Linked DNA regions of Homo sapiens: region 1 is linked to region 2. Evidence: promoter capture Hi-C in 16 types of primary human blood cells and fetal thymus (Javierre and others, 2016). All regions are on one chromosome and are shown on one strand. Each heading gives the region's core, a stretch centred on a gene start or on the middle of the fragment in contact. The rest is flanking DNA. Distances are from core to core; before and after follow the strand shown.

What was found. Contacts are between HindIII fragments. The CHiCAGO score rates a contact against its expected background, and 5 or more counts as called.
Region 1: a contact is called between a fragment that was not itself captured here and the fragment with the promoter of PPP1R16B in region 2, in 9 of 17 cell types (total CD8 T cells, total CD4 T cells, naive B cells and 6 more). The highest score is 22.9, in total CD8 T cells.

The regions. Positions count from the first base shown.
Region 1 is chr20:38,896,192-38,899,062 of GRCh38, forward strand. The region is part of intron 4 of PPP1R16B (protein phosphatase 1 regulatory subunit 16B); the gene reads left to right. Among named protein-coding and RNA genes, the nearest start is that of FAM83D, 29 kb to the right of the region's middle. The HindIII fragment of the contact is 8,801 bases long and covers 1-2,871 here.
Region 2 is chr20:38,804,220-38,807,084 of GRCh38, forward strand. It overlaps PPP1R16B (protein phosphatase 1 regulatory subunit 16B), which reads left to right and starts at 1,478. Exons shown (of 11, transcript NM_015568.4): 1 at 1,478-1,573. RefSeq lists enhancers at 1-653, 654-1,515, 798-1,067, 2,096-2,865 and silencers at 1,328-1,707, 1,898-2,117, 2,178-2,527. The HindIII fragment of the contact is 16,329 bases long and covers 1-2,865 here.

The DNA of each region.
Region 1 (2,871 bases), core at 113-2,612, 92 kb after region 2:
TTCTTTCTTCCCTCCCTCTCTCCCTCCCTTTCTTTTCCCTACCTGCCTCCCTCCCTCTCTCCCTCCCTTCCTTTCTTCTTTCTTCCCTTCCTCCTTCCCTCCTTTTCTGCTTTTCTTCCTTCCTCTCTTTTCTCTTTTTTTCTCTCTCTCTGTCACTCTTTCTCAGTCTCTCTTGGTGCTTGTCACTTTCTTTCTCCCCACATCCTCTCTTCATCTCTCTCTCTGCTTCTACCTCTCACCCTCTCCTCCCCTCAGTTCCCCTTTACTCTCCCCATCTCTGTGTGCCTGTTCTGCTCTTTTCTTCTTCTATCTCTGTCTCTCCTTCACTCTTGGTCTGTCTCTGTATTTTCCAGTCTCTTTTTATTTTCTCTCTTCTCCTTTCATTCTCCCTTTCCCCCCAATTTTTTATAGTGATAAAACACATATAACATAAAATACCATCTTACCCATTTTAAGTGTGCAGGTTAGTGGTATTAAGTACATTCATATTGTTGTGCAGCCATTACCACTCTCCATCTTCAGAATGACTTTCATCTCGCAAAACTGAAACTCTGTACCCATCAAACAGTAATTCCCATTCCCTGCCTACCCCTGGCTCCTGGCGACCACCATTCTACTTTCTGTCTCTATGAATTTGACTACTGTAAGCACTTTATAGAAGTGGATTCAGAAAGGCCGGGCACGGTAGCTCACGCCTGTAATCTCAGCACTTTGGGAGGCTGAGGCAAGTGGATCACCTGAGGTCGGGAGTTCGAGACCAGCCTGACCAACATGGTGAAGTCCCATCTCTACTAAAAATACAAAATTAGCCGGGCATGGTGGTGCATGCCTGTAATCCCAGCTACTTGGGAGGCTGAGGCAGGAGAATCGCTTGAACCCAGGAGGCGGAGTTTGCGATGAGCTGAGATCATGCCATTGCACTCCAGCCTGGGCAACAAGAGCAAAACTGCACCTCAAATAAATAAATAAATAAATGAAAAGTGGATTCAGCTGGGTGTGGTGGCTCACGCCTGTAATCCCAGCTACTCAGGTGGTGGAGGCAGGAGAATCGCTCGAACCCAGGAGACTGAGGTTGCAGTGAGCCAAGATTGTACCACTGCAATCCACCCTGGGCGACGGAGTGAGACACCATCTTAAAAAAACAAGAAGTGGATTCATACAGTATTTGTCTTTTTTTGACTGGCATATTTCACTTAGCATAATGTCCTCAAGGTTCATCTATGTTGTAGTATGTGTCAGAGTTTCCTTCCTTTTTAAGGCTGAATGTACTCCATTGTATGTCTATACCACGTTTCACTTATGCATCCATTCATTGATGGACACTTGGGTTGCCTCCATGTTTTAGCTATTGTGAATCATGCTGTGACGAACATGAGTGTACAAATATCTCTTGAAATCCTGCTTCCAATTCCTTTGGTTATACACCCAGAAGTGGAGTTGCTGGATTGTATGGTAATGCTATTTTAAATTTTTTAAGGACCTGCTATACTGTTTTCCACAACATGTTACATTCCCACCAACAGTACACAAGGATTCTAGTTTCTCCACATCCTCACCAACACTTGCTATTTTCTGCTTTTTCTTTTTTGTTAGTAGCCATACTAGTAGATGTGAGGTGGTCTCTCACTGTGGTTTTGATTTGCATTTTTCTCGTGATGAGTGACGTTGAGCATCTTTTCATGTGCCCGTTGTCCATCTGTATGTCTTCTTTGGAGAAATGTCTATTCAAGTCCTTTGTCCATGTTTGAACTGGGTTGGGTTTTTGTCATTGAATTTTAGGATTTCTCTATGTATTCTGGAGATGAATCCCTTATCAGATAGACGTACTATTTTCTCCCATTCTATAGGATGTCTTTGAAATCACTGCCAAATCCACTATCATGGAGGTTTTGTTCTATGTTTTCTCCTAAGAGTTTTATAGTTTTAGGTCTTTCATTTAGGTCATGGGTCCAGTTTGAATTAAATCTTATATATGGTATTGGGTAAGGATCTAACTTCATTCTTTTGCATGCGGATATCCAATTTTCCTACACTATCTGTTGGAAAGATGGTTGGTCTTTTCTCCATTGAATGGCCTTGGTACCCTGTCTAAAATCATTTAACCGTGTATGTGAGGGTTTGTTTCTGGACTCTATTCTATTTTATTGGTCTATATGTTTGTCTTTATGCCAGCCCCACACTGTTTGATGCTAGAGTTTTGGAGTTCGTTTTGAAATCAGGAAGTGTGAATCCGCCAGCTTTGTTCTTCTTTTTCAGGGTTGTGTTGGCTATTCAGGTTCCTTGAGATTCCCTATGAATTTTAGAGTAAGCTATTCTAGTCTGCAAAAAACATCATTGGAGATTACAGGTGGCTGACACCTGTAATCCCAGCACTTTGGGAGGCCAAAATGGGTGGACCACTTGAGGTCAGGAGTTCGATACCAGTCTGGCCAACATAGTGAGACCCTGTCTCTACTAAAAATACAAAAATTAGCTGGGCGTGGTGGTGCACGCCTGTAATCCCAGCTACTCAGGAGGCTGAGGCAGGAGAACTGCTTGAACCTGGGAGGCGGAGGTTGCAGTGAGCTGAGTTTGAGCCACTGCACACCAGCCTGGGTGATGGAGCAAGACCTTGTTTCAAAACAACAACAACAACAACAACAACAACAACAACAATCATTGTGATTCTTAAAAGTAATGGCAAGAACCACAATTACTTTTGCACCAACCTAAATAATAATTGGTATCACCCAGAGCTGGGCACTGGGCACACAGGGATGCAGAAGTCCTGGGGAGCCAGGAAGAAAGCCAGGGGTTTTAAGTACCAGAGCTGAGACAGAGCCAGACCAGGGGGCTGATCATCTGAGGGCAAGGAGTCAGAGAGAGTGGCCC
Region 2 (2,865 bases), core at 228-2,727:
ACACAAGCCTTGGAGAGATGGGTTCCCATCCTCTCAGCCCATGGCTCTTCATTATCAATCAATGGAAACATTCTTCGGAGAACAATGATTCCCTTGGGTTATTTTAAACATGGCTTTAAGTCTTCCCCACATGCTCTACTGTCTAATTGCTTTTCCTGAAACAGTGTCATTCACAACTGGATTATTAATGAACTGAGAGGGAGCCAGGGAGCCAATGAAGGGGGCTTACAGAGTTCCTGGAGAGGGCCTGGGGGCCTGGAACAAGTTCAACCCACAGATTTTCTCTCCCCCAAGAAAGGTGACTGAGCAAACAGAAAATCACTAAACTCAGGTGATGCTGGTGGCCTCAAAAGAATATTGCCAGTGAAAAAAAAAGGATTCGGGCGAGTTCCTCAAACATGACAGCTGAGAATCAAATTAACTGGGTACCATCCCCAAACTCCCCAAACTTAAACTCTGAATTTCCCCAGCTGGCTGGCCCTGGGGTGCCTAGGGCTCTCATCTGTAGGCCGGGAAAGCTCAGGAAACAAGGCCTTTGTGGAGAAGAGAAACCTATTGTTCTAAGGCCAGGGTTCAGCAAATGTGGATTCCAGAGAATGTTTGGGGAGGTTTTCTCTGCTTTGTTTATGAACTTTCTTTTCTCTTCCTGGGGTGGTGATGGTGGGGGGTGACTCTCAGCAACTTAAATAGTTAAACCCATTGTGTTGTAAAGAAAGGCTGGTGCACAGAGTGCAGAGGCCTTCAGCCCCAGAAAGAGGCTTGAATGAGGTGACAGAAGCCACCGGGTATGTTTTGCTTTTTATTTTTAGCGTTAAATCTCAGGGAAGCAGCCCCTATCTTCATCCTGCACATCTCAAAGGGCGTCAGACGTCAGCAGAGGTACGACCACTTCCTTCCTCCAGCGCTTCACCTCCCTTCTTTCCAGAAAGAGGAAATGATGCGAGTCCACACCGCAGGCCACAGCCCCCATGTCTCGGCCCCAGCAGCTGGGGGACCTGGCCCCACAGATCTGTCCCCAGCGCAAGGCCAGGGCCGGCCCCTGGACCTCCTGGGAAGCCTTCAGACTCAGGCCGCGCAGGCCTTCAAGCTAGGAACCCTGAGTTCCTGGCCCTGGCATTCATTCTGTGTGACCTTGAGCAGGTTACCACTCCTCTCTGGGCTTCAGGATTCCCGTCTGTCAAATGGGAGCAGGGATACCGTCCTTGGCTTCCCTCTTTCCATGGTCGGGGTGGGGGTTAGGAAAACTATTTTGGAGGAGGGGGCAGCGTTAGGAAAACTATTCCGAAGCCTGGCCACGTCCCAACCGGTTTCAACTTCCTGCAGCTCAGAAGAGGGGTCCCCACCCGAGAGCGCCGGGACCCTGTCCCGCGCTGCCTCCCAAGCCGGATGGGGTTGAGCGCGCCCACCCCAGTCCCAGGAGCTCAGGCCCCGCCTTGGGGGAGGAGCCGAGAGGCGGCGCGGAGGCTCGCGGCCGAGCAGAGCCAGCTCTGTCGCCGCTGGAGCAGCTGCGGCTCGGGGACCCACAGACACAGCCGGGGTCGGGAGCCGCCCGGGGCAGGGCTCGGGAGAGCGGGTGAGTTCCCCGGCGGCGCCACCACCCTCCTTGCGCTCTGCGGCTTCGCAGGGCGGGGGATGAGGATGGGGCGGGGAGGTGGTCCCAGCCTGCTATCACCTAGCTGGGGGCCGGGGCGCTTTGGCCAAGGGACGATAGCTTGAGATAAATGGGAGTGTGGGGACTCTGGAAAGACGGGTACCGAGAGCGCTAGGTCCGGGAGTCGGGCTGGAATGGGGGCGTTCTCCCCGGCCTCGCAATTCCTTGACGAGGCCAGGGGAGGGGGCGCATTGGCAGGTTGTTGGCTGCGGCCGTCGTAGACCGATCTTGGGGCGGGGAGGTGGGGTCCTCGGTCTGTTCTGGACTCATGGGGCCGCCGTCTGCCGGGGGTGCAATGCCGGGCGGCGGGAGCCACAGCGGACACCAAACAACCCCCCCCCGCGCACTCTCCCGGCCGGGCATGGTGGTGCCGCCCCCTCGCGTGGCGGGGCTTGGTCCTGGCGGGCAGCGGCAGGGCGCAGAGAGCGCTCCTGCCCGGGCGGGAAAGATCCCCAAGGCAGGCGCCTCCACCTGCAGACCCGCCCCGCCTCAGGATCCGGCTGACAGCACCAGCCAGCCCGGGGAGACCCCGCGAGTGGTAGTTCCCCGGGAGGGGCGCGCCCGGCCTCTCCCAGGGCCCCGTGCGCCGGCGGCTGGGTCCCCCGCGCCAGGAGCGCTCCCCTCTGGGCGACTCCGGCTCATCGATTCCGGCCCAGAGGAGCGCCCCCGGGCGCCGAGGATGGGCGGAGACGTGCAGCCGCCCCTGAGAGGTCGCCCAGAGGGGTCTCCCCAAGGTCACCCGGAGTGCCCAGGCTGAGCTGCCCAGACCGCCCCGGGTGGAGAGCCGGGAGGCAGGCGCTCGCTGCCCTCCTCCTTCCCCCATGTAGACTCCCTTCCTCCGCTCCCCCACCCCGGCCCGGCCTCCAGCTTCACTGGAGATGCTGATGATGCAGCTCCCAGCCCTTGGAGGATAATTGAGCCTGGGAGAGCTTTGAATCTGGCCCTCCTGAGACCCCAGGGCTGCGCCGCTGCCGCGCGCCAGGCCTGGGTCCCGGTGCTCCCGGGCACCTCAGGAGCGGAGGGAGAGGGATGTGGCTTCATCAGCGCTTCTAGGAACCGAAAACCGAGCTGCCTGCGCGCCCATGTGATTGCATTTCACATAAAGGGCCCCTGTTTTCACTGTCAGAAGAGCCCCCCAGCTCTCCGCGGCTCTGGACACCAGGTGCCGCCTCTGAATCACCCTCTGTGGAGGACCCGGGGCCCGGAGGTACAGG